Regions from separate parts of the Homo sapiens genome. Here region 2 is linked to region 1. The links are contacts of gene promoters, found by promoter capture Hi-C in blood cells and fetal thymus (Javierre and others, 2016). All regions are on one chromosome and are shown on one strand. The core of a region is centred on a gene start or on the middle of the fragment in contact, and the rest is flanking DNA. Distances in the headings are between cores, read along the strand shown. Region 1 holds the start of SVOPL (SVOP like). Region 2 overlaps LOC107986749 (a long non-coding RNA gene).

Region 1 (4,586 bases), core at 78-2,577:
GTTGGCAGGAGATTATCAGGATTGTAGCGTTCACATCTGTACCTTGGAAAGGGGCTTACTCTCCAAGTCATTAAAAGGACACTCAAACACAAACTCAAAGTTAGTTAGCATATATATGAAATGTATTTTCTTGGTAGTCTCTAGAGTTTCAGCCAAAAGCTACATGAAGAAAGAAGAGAACAACATGTTTGAGAGATGGAGATGAGGAACATTATTGAGAGATAGAGCTTGCAATCTTAACTCAGCAATGGAATGCTGGAAAGGCTGAATTGACATACTCTGTTCTTTGGTTCCGTATGTCTTTTTTTTTTTTTTTTTTTTTGAGACAGAGTCTTACTCTGTTGCCCAGGCTGGAGTGCCGTGGTGTGATCTTGGCTCACTGCAACCTCTGCCTCCCGGGTTCAAGCGATTCTTCTGCCTCAGCCTCCTGAGTACCTGGGATTACAGGCACCCACCACCATGCATGGCTAATTTTTTTGTATTTTTAGTAGAGACGGGGTTTCACCATCTTGGTCAGGCTGGTCTTGAACTCCTGACCTTGTGATCCACCCACCTCAGCCTCCCAAAGTGCTGGGATTACAGGCGTGAGCCACCGCACCCGGCTGGTTTCCTGTGTCATTCTAAATCCTTTCTAACCCAGTAAGAGGATGGATGGATGGATGGATGGATGGATGGATGGATGGCAGATGGATGATCAGTTAGACCAACTCAGGAAAATAGGGAATAACATGGAAAAGAATGCTTCGCGTCCCTCACTATAAGTTCCTAAAAAGCTACAATGGGAAAGTAATCCATGACCTACCTTCACAAAACCTGGTGAGAAACTGATAGATTGGGGATTTTCCCTGAACTCAGATGGAGTTCAAGCTTCATTAAAACAAATTCTAAAGGACTGATTGACATTTTATTCTATTGTATTTTGTTATACTGATTGTTTTTTAACCAGAAATAATTGGGCCACAGTAGATCTTTTTTAAACTGAGTTTTGTGTGTGATGTGTGATGTAATTTGTTTTGCAATATCCAAGGAAATTTTCATGCTCCATTTGCCTTCGGCCACAAACTAACAGTCAATGCCCCACCCCACCCTCTACAGCAGCAGGAAAAAATAAGTCCAGATCAATGTTGCCCACAAATTTCTCACCTCTGTATATTCCTTGGACAGTCTTCCAATTTCAGGCTCTTTTGCTCCCCTCACCGTGGCCAAGTCTTAGACGGAAATTGGAGCACAGATGGCTTCTCAGGGGTGGCCAGACTTGTGTTCCCAAGACGCCTGGCTCCCTGGTCTTATCCTCTCCTTTCAGGTCGGGTCTCAGATCAGGATTCTTTAAGGGCCAACTTCGCATTCTGGGCAAGTGAATGACACCTAGGGCACACCCTCTTCTCAGCAGCCTGCACTTGATCTCCTTTTAAAGGGGAAATTACATTTCTTGTTAAGACTGAAAGAGGCTGCCGAACTTTGGAGGAAATTACTATGTTGTTCTCAGGACAGCTGGAAGAATTTCTGAAAGAGAAGACCTAGGCAAGGGGCAGAGGGAAGCTTTGCCCTTGCAAACATTTGCTCACAGCCATTGCTTAGAATTAAGGAGCAGGTTCATGCCCATCCTGTCAGCCATATCCTGCAGGGTGGCAGGCATGCTGTAGCCCCTGGTATAGGCCATGGTGCCTGCCACCCTGAAGCTGCCTGTGCTGTACAAGAGCAGCCTTTGCTATGCCAGGAGTCACTGAGTGGCCAGGCCATGAGCCTGTCTTGGGTCAACTCTGTGGGCCTCAATGTCCCTGCTTCTGTTCGTTATTCCCATACAGACATCAATGTGCCTGACTTCCCTGATTACTGTTGCATTGAGATTTTTGATGGGACAAAGTCTTCAAAAGAGGATGGCGAGGCTAGGAAAGGGTTCTCCTATTTGGTAACTGCAACAACTGCTGTGGGTGTCACATATGCTGCCAAGAATGTCATCTCCCAGTTTGTTTCCAGCATCAGTGCTTCTGCTGATGAGTCGGCCGTGTCGAAAATTGCAATCAAGTTATTTGATATTCCAGAAGGCAAGAACATGGCTTTCAAATGGAGAGGCAAATCCCTGTTTGTATGCCACAGAACCAAGAAGGAAATTGACCAAGAACCTGCAGTTGAAGAGTCCCAGCTGAGGGCCCATAGCATGATTTAAGGGCCAGGCACAGTGGCTCATGCCTGTAATTCCAGCACTTTGGAAGGCCGAGGTGGGCAGATCACTTGAGGTCAGGAGCTCAAGACCAGCCTGGCCAACATGGCGAAACCCCATCTCTACTAAAAATACAAAATTAGCCAGGCGTGGTGGCATGTGCCTGTAATCCCAGCTACTCGGGAGGCTGAGGCAGGAAAATCACTTGAACCTGGGAGGCAGAGGTTGCAGTGAGCCGAGATTGCACCATTGCACTCCAGCCTGGGCAACACAGTGAGAATCTGTCTCAAAAAAAAAAAAAAAAAAGAAGAAGAAGAAGAAGTAAAGGATGGGCCGGGAGTGGTGGCTCACACCTGTAATCCAAGCACTTTGGGAGGCCAAGGCGGGTGAATCACTTGAGGTCAGGAGTTCAAGACCAGCCTGGCAAACATGGTGAAACTCCGTCTCTACTAAAAATACAAAAATTAGTCAGGCGTGGTGGTCCATGCCTGTAATCCCAGCTACTCGGGAGAATGAGGCAGGAGAAGTGCTTGAACCTGGGAGGCGGAGGTTGCAGTGAGCCAAGATCGCGCCACTGCACACTCCAGCCTGGGAGAGAGAGTGAGACTCTGTCTGAAAAAAAAAAAAAAAAGATAAAAAAGGAGTAAAGAATGAGTGCAATGCCTATCAGGGTAACCCATTCGAGTTTCTTTACTAGGCGTTTGCATTCATCCTGTTGTACACCTATTGCAAATGAAGATTTTGGTGGTGATTACTGCCCTTGCTGGGGGTCACACAGATGCATCTGGGAGGATCTGGAAGGGGCCTGCCCCTCTTGAGCTTGGAGCTCCCTCATATGGGTTCACCAGTGAGGACACAGTCATTGTTGGTTAGAGACTGGGACTCAAGTTGTAGGCTCCTTTCAGTCTTTGCGTCACTGTAGAAGAGTTATTTGAGAGCAAGCCTTCTGAACTTCAAGTTGCTTGATTTGAAATATTTAAGAAGTGATAATGTATTTGCAAACATTACTGTGAAGTAAATTGAATTTAATGTTGAATACGTTCAAGCATTCACTTAATAAAACAACTGTTAAACACTGTTACACTGTCATACACTTGAAAGGTGCAATGTCTTTTAGGTAGTTCTAATTTTTTACTTTAAAAAAATTTTTTGTTTTTATTTTTTTGAGATGGTGTCTCGCTCTGTCTCCCAGGCTGAAGTGCAGTGGCGTGATCTCGGCTTACTGCAACCTCCGCCTCCCGGGTTCAAGTGATTCTCCTGCCTCAGCCTCCTGAGTAGCTGGGATTACAGGCATACACCACCATGCCTGGCTAATTTTCATACGTTCAGTAGATGAGGAGTTTCACCAGTTGGCCAGGCTGGTCCCAAAATCCTGGCCTCAAGCAATTCACCCACCTCGACCTCCCAAAGTGCTGGGATTACAGGCGTGAGCCACCATGCCTGGCCTAATTCTAATTTAAAACTACACAGTGGTATATAAAAATTAAAAAAAAAATAGACTTAAGGATCAACAGGCTGGTGATCCATTTAAGCACAGGGTTCTTTTTAGATAGTTGTTGAGAAGGACATTTGTGAGCTGAGAACCTGAAAATCGTCCAGTGGCCATGGCAGCATGGGATTGGTAGATTTCTTATCCCTCCATTTGCATGCTGTCTTAGTCTATTCTCCCAGTTCAACCATCACTGACAGTATCTCCTCCACACCCAGGGCTTTACAACCACCTTTTCTACAGTCCAGAGAGGTGGAGATCATTATTTCCATTCGGCAATGAGGGGAACAACTCCATTTCTTTCCTGAGGGCACTCATGATAAAGCATCAAAGTTGGGACTCAAACATGTACACCTTCTGACCTTAGCTATCATTCTTTTGCTCAATCTCATTAAGTGAATATTGAGCATCTAATATGTGCCTTCCACTGTGCTGGAAAAGTCATGATACTGACATGGAAGGTGACACAGAAGCTTCCTTTTAGGTTTGAGCAATGCCGCTTCCATGAGCACCAATCAGCTTTACCACACACAGGGCACGTAGGCACTTAAAAAACAGGGTCTCATCCAAAGCATATTTTGAATTTAATCAGCTCTTTTAGAACTTTACTAACAATGAAAATTTAGAACTGGCCAGATGCGGTGGCTCACACCTGTAATCCCAGCACTTTGGGAGGCCAAGGCGGGCGGATCACTTGAGGCCAGGATTTCGAGACACCAGCCTGGCCAACACAGTGAAACCACGTCTCTACTAGAAGTACAAAAATTAGCCATGCATGGTGGCGGTTGCCTGTAATCCCAGCTACTCAGGAGGCTGAGGCTGGAGATTGCTTGAACCTGGGAGGCCGGAGGTCACAGCGAGCTAAGATTGCACCACTAAACTCCAGCAAGTCCCTGAGACAGAGTGAGGCCCTGTCTCAAAAAAAAAAAAAAAAAA
Region 2 (5,100 bases), core at 1,329-3,828, 530 kb before region 1:
ATTAAGAACCATCATCTCTGTCATCAATTAATTAGCTCAAGTGTAAGTATTTTCTGATTTTTTCTTACACATTGCAAATATTTTCTGCCAAATTGTTGTTTGTGTGCATTGGGAAGTGGGATGGGGGGGTTGTAGAGACAGGTGTCTCACTGTGTTGCCCAGGCTGGTCTTGAGCTCCTGGACTGAAGAGATCCTCCTGCTTGGCTTCTCAAAGCGCTGGGATTACAGGTGCAAGCCACTGCACCCAGCCAAACTGTGGCTTTTTAACAACATTTTGTTTGTTTTCTTTTTTTTCCTCTTTTTTTTTCCCTTTTAACAACATTTTTAATGATATCTTTTGTCATTGCTTAATATTTTGCTTTTATCTAATTAAGTTGCTCAATCTTTTCTTTTTCTAACTCTGGGTTTCATGTTGAAGGAATTCAGGACATGCTACCCCAAAATGTGAAAACTTGGCATTTGAGAAGACAGCAGAAGCAGGAAGGTCACGCTCACTACCTCCCCCACAATGCTCTACTCCCCTGAAACAGATCATAAAACCTAGGAAGGATTTCCTGACCATCCCCTCAAGTAGGTCTTATGACCCTCATGTGAGAGGTGCCCTCCCTATACCCAGAAGATAGCAACATCCTCATTTCTGAAGATACAAGGACAAAGAGAAGAGTTTGAACAAACGGCTTCCTAAGTTCTCCCCAGTTTATTAACATTATGTTACAGTCTCACCAACGCACCGCAATGTAGCAGTCTCTCGTTTGAGGTATCACCCTGAGTTCTCGGTCTCACAACCATGACAATTAAGGAACATGATCACCAAGGGTGAGGTTGGAGTGGAAGTTTAATAAGCAAAAGAAGAAAGTTCTCCACCACAGAAAGGGGCCCAAAAGAGGGTTGCCATTTTTACAGTTGAATGCAAAGGCTTTTATAAGAAACCAGTTAGAGCTGGGCATCTCATTTGCATGAGATGCGAATTTCTGGTAGCTCCACCCCATCCTCCTAATGCACATGTAGGCCCTTAGCTTGAGTTACTCCGTATTGCTTTGTTGCCCTTACTGCACATGTGTCAGGGGATGGAATTTTCCATTACGGGCATGTCTGGGCAAGTCACCTGTGTAGGCTTTCTTATCTGTGTGGCTGTGGGCATGTCTTAGGCAAGTGCCGCTGTGCAAGTTCCCTTATCTGTGCCTGCAGCTTGATTTTTCTGGCTGTTCTTTTGTTTGAAAAGATTCAACCAAGGACCCACCATAACTGCCTGCCTGACTGGTTTCTTCCTCCTTCCTCTCTCAATGATATCATTCTCCCTTTGTTCAATCATATTTCTTCATCAAACCTAGCATAAAGAATATACAAATTTATGCATTTGGGGGAGGTCTTCCTTTCCTTATGAAGGCTTCCATACCACGTATAAATAATATGTGTATGATTTTCTCTTGTGAATCTGTATTTTGTTATAGGGGCCTCAGCCATGAACCTAGAGATTAGTGAGCAAAAATTATTTTTTTCTCAAGTGTTTCTTGCTTGAGATGATTTTCTTATCCCCAAGATTAAAATATTATGTGTTTCTTCCATGATTTTTATGGTGTTTATATCTATTTCTTTAATCTTTCTAGAATGTACTTTTGTACATGCTGAAAGGTAGAATTAATTTTGCAAAAAGGAAAAAGCTACTTGCTACTTTTACTATAATTATAATTATATAATTATTATTAAGGTTTTTTCTTTCTTCTTTCTTTTTTTTTTTTTTTTTTTTTTTTTTTTTTTTTTGAGATAGGGTCTCACTCTGTCACCCAGGCTAGAGTGTAGTGGTGCAATCTGGGCTCACTGCAACCTCTGCCTCCCAGGTTCAAGTGATCCTCCAAACTCAGCTTCCCAAGTAGCTGGGACTACAGGCATGTGCCACCACAATTATTATTTCATTAGACCCTCTCTGGATCTTGTTCCATCTCTAATATCTCTGCCAAATGCTCCGAATCAGGTAGATATATTTAAATTCTAGCTGGTGCAAAGAAGGAATAATTTGAAAAAGAAGAAATAATTTTAATGCACATGCAAGTAATATACGTATTCATCTAGTTACTTGCATGCATTTGTGGCCAAAAGCCATGAATCATATAAAGAAGTAGCTGCAGCCAGGCACGGTAGCTCATGCCTGTAATCCTAGCACTTTGGGAGGCCAAGGGCGGGGGAGGGGGTGGATTACCTGAGGTCAGGAGTTCGAGACCAGCCTGGCCAACATGGTGAAACCCTGTCTTTACTAAAAATACAAACATTAGCTGGTCATGGTGGTGGGTGCCTATAATCCCAGCTACTTGGGAGGCTGAGGAGAATTGCTTGAACCCAGCAGATGGAGGTTGCAGTGAGCTGAGATTGTGCCACTTTACTCCAGCCTGGGTGAAACAGCAAAACTCCATCTCAAAAAAAAAAGTAGCTTCAATGCTGTTTTCAAGATACTTAAGCCAATTTGGTCATACACCCTTATTAGTTGCTTTATGATTAGCTCTCCAAAGCTTCCAGTAATTAGAATTTGGTGACAACCATAGAGACTTCAATTCCAAATGGTATGTTATAATGAAAGCAAATTTCAGACCTCATTCAGCCATGGGTATAAATATGTATTAGCAATCAGGCCCTCCAAATAGTCATACTACCCGTTTTATAAGCTTGATGAAGTCTTAGCTCTCTGACCTTTCAGTGTTCCCACAGAACCTTATGAGCGTCAGAGACAGGAGGACCATGTTCCAGCTTTGGAGCAGGATTAACTAACTCTCAAATGAGAGTCAGGTGAAAAATTCTCTCACTACAGTCTAGAATTTCAAGCCTGGAGAGATAATTCAAACAGTCTAGAATTTCAAGCCTGGAGACATAATTCAAAATGAATAGACAGGCTAGCTGGACTTTTACACCTCATTTATGCAAAGGCAAGAGTATCCATAAGACATTTTTATCCAATCCACATAAAATTGAATTCATTTTACCAGTAAAAAATCATTTCTAACATCCCTTATGCTAATTAACAAACCCCCTGGGATTGATATGAGATAAAGACGACTGGAGCCATAATCTAATCCTTCTGGAATGTGGCTTCTGAATGGAGAATTTCTTTTTTTGTGTGTGAGATGAAGCCTCACTTTGTTGCTGAGGCTGGAGTGCAGTGGCACGATCCCGGCTCACTGCAACCTCTGCCTCCCAGTTTCAAGCGATTCTCCTGCTTTAGCCCCCACCAAGTAGCTGAAATTACAGACATGAACCCAATGCCTAGCTAATTCTTTTTTTGAATTTTTAGTAGAGACGGGGTTTTGCCATGTTGGCCAGGCTGGTCTCGAACTCCCGACTTCAAGTGATCCACACCCACCTTGGCCTCACAAAGTCCCGGGATTACCTGCGTGAGCCACCAAGCCAAGCCTGAACTGACAATTTCAAATATTAACCTACCATCCAGGAGTATATTTTTCCTGAGAGAGTTCAGAAATATCACCCCAAAATATGCAGCATTGGTATGCTGATTACTTCAAACTGAAGTCATTTGGGAAATGCCAAACGCACAGAGGGGCTTTTCCTGAATTTCCCTTATCTGACTAAGTGCAGATTCTCCAGAAGGAAGCCAATTGTCAAGAAATGCTTCCTGGGGATTTTTATCTATCCGTGAAGATTAACACACAACAGAAGTCAAACCTAGAAAAAGCTGGAGGTTAGCACCTCCTACAGACAGGATATAACCTATTCTTCTGAAGGCTGATTCGTACTTTTCATAATCATTTACTCTCCCTAGGTTGCCTACATACTCCCCTTCCCTCTCTCTTATGAAGGGAATATAAAAGCTTTTAGGTCTCATTGAGTTATTGGGTAGTTTCTTAACTTCCATGTGATGCCTTTCTGCATGTTAATAAAATGTATATATATATTTTTTTCTCCTTTTAATCTGTCTATTGCCAGCTTATTTCCCCAGACTTTCAGCCTCAAATCTTCAGAATGGAGGAGAGGACTTCCTTCACCCATATATCCAAATTATGTAACTCCCTGATGGGTTCTCCTTGCCTGCTGCACACACAAAATCAACTCTCTGAGACCATGCCATTGCAGTAAAGAAAAGAGTTTGATTGACACAAGGCTGGCCACACCACACAGGAGACTGTTATCACTCAACTCAATCTCCCCAAAGGCTCAAAGATTAGGGTTTTTCCCAGGATCTTTTGATGAGCAGGGGCCTAAGGTAGGGGCATACTGATTGGTTGGGTCAGAGATGAAATCATAGGGAATCAAAGCTGCCCTCTTATGGTGGGTAAGTTCCTGGGTTGGGGCCACAGGACTGGTTGGCAGGTCCAGGTGGGGCCATCCATTGTCAGAAATGCAAAAACCTGAAAAGACATCTCAAAAGGCCAGTCTTAGTTTCTACAATAGTGATGTTGTCTGCAAGAGTAATTGGGGAAGTTGCAAATCTTACGACCTCCATAATAATGGCTGGTAATTATTTAGAATTTAAGCCCCTCTCATCCTCCTAACTTCATGGCCTTTCATTAGTTTTACAAGAATCGTTTAGTTTTGGGGGAAGGTTATTATCATTTAAACTATAAACTAAGTTTCTCCCAAAGTTATCTTGGCCCACACCCACGAATGAGCAAAGCCAGCCAGCCTGTGAGGCTAGAAGCAAGATGCAGTCAGCCACGTCCAATTTCTCTGTCATACTTTTGCAAAGCCAGTTTCAGTCAGGGCTCTTCAAATGCCCAACTAACTATTCCTAAGTAAAGAATGAAAGCAACTAGAACACATCACACCACACTATCCATGCTGAAGCATTTTAAAGTAAACGTAAAGATAATCTAATGTACAGACACCTTCATTTTTCCCATGGTGATTTCTCTGGGATATTGTTTTGTATTTCCCTGTCTGACTTGTGGCAACATCTGTATTTCTGTAATTATAAAAGGTAAGACTCACTATTTGACTTTGAGAGGAACATTTGAGACGGCACGGTGGCTCAAGCCTGTAATCCCAAAGCTTTGGGTGGCCAAGGCAGGTGGATCGCCTGAGGTCAGCAATTCAAGAACAGCCTGGCCAACATTGTGAAACCCCATCTCTACTAAAAATATAACAATTAGCCAGGTG

What was found. Contacts are between HindIII fragments. The CHiCAGO score rates a contact against its expected background, and 5 or more counts as called.
Region 2: a fragment that was not itself captured here is called in contact with the fragment with the promoter of SVOPL in region 1 in 10 of 17 cell types (naive CD4 T cells, non-activated CD4 T cells, naive CD8 T cells and 7 more); the score reaches 9.7 in naive CD4 T cells.

The regions. Positions count from the first base shown.
Region 1 is chr7:138,700,035-138,704,620 of GRCh38, forward strand. It overlaps SVOPL (SVOP like), which reads right to left and starts at 1,328. Exons shown (of 16, transcript NM_001139456.2): 1 at 1,144-1,328. It also overlaps the pseudogene UQCRFS1P2. The HindIII fragment of the contact is 672 bases long and covers 866-1,537 here.
Region 2 is chr7:138,163,826-138,168,925 of GRCh38, forward strand. LOC107986749 (a long non-coding RNA gene) reads left to right here. Exons shown (of 3, transcript XR_001745033.3): 3 at 419-1,660. Among named protein-coding and RNA genes, the nearest start is that of MIR4468, 43 kb to the left of the region's middle. RefSeq lists an enhancer at 1-1,189. The HindIII fragment of the contact is 153 bases long and covers 2,503-2,655 here.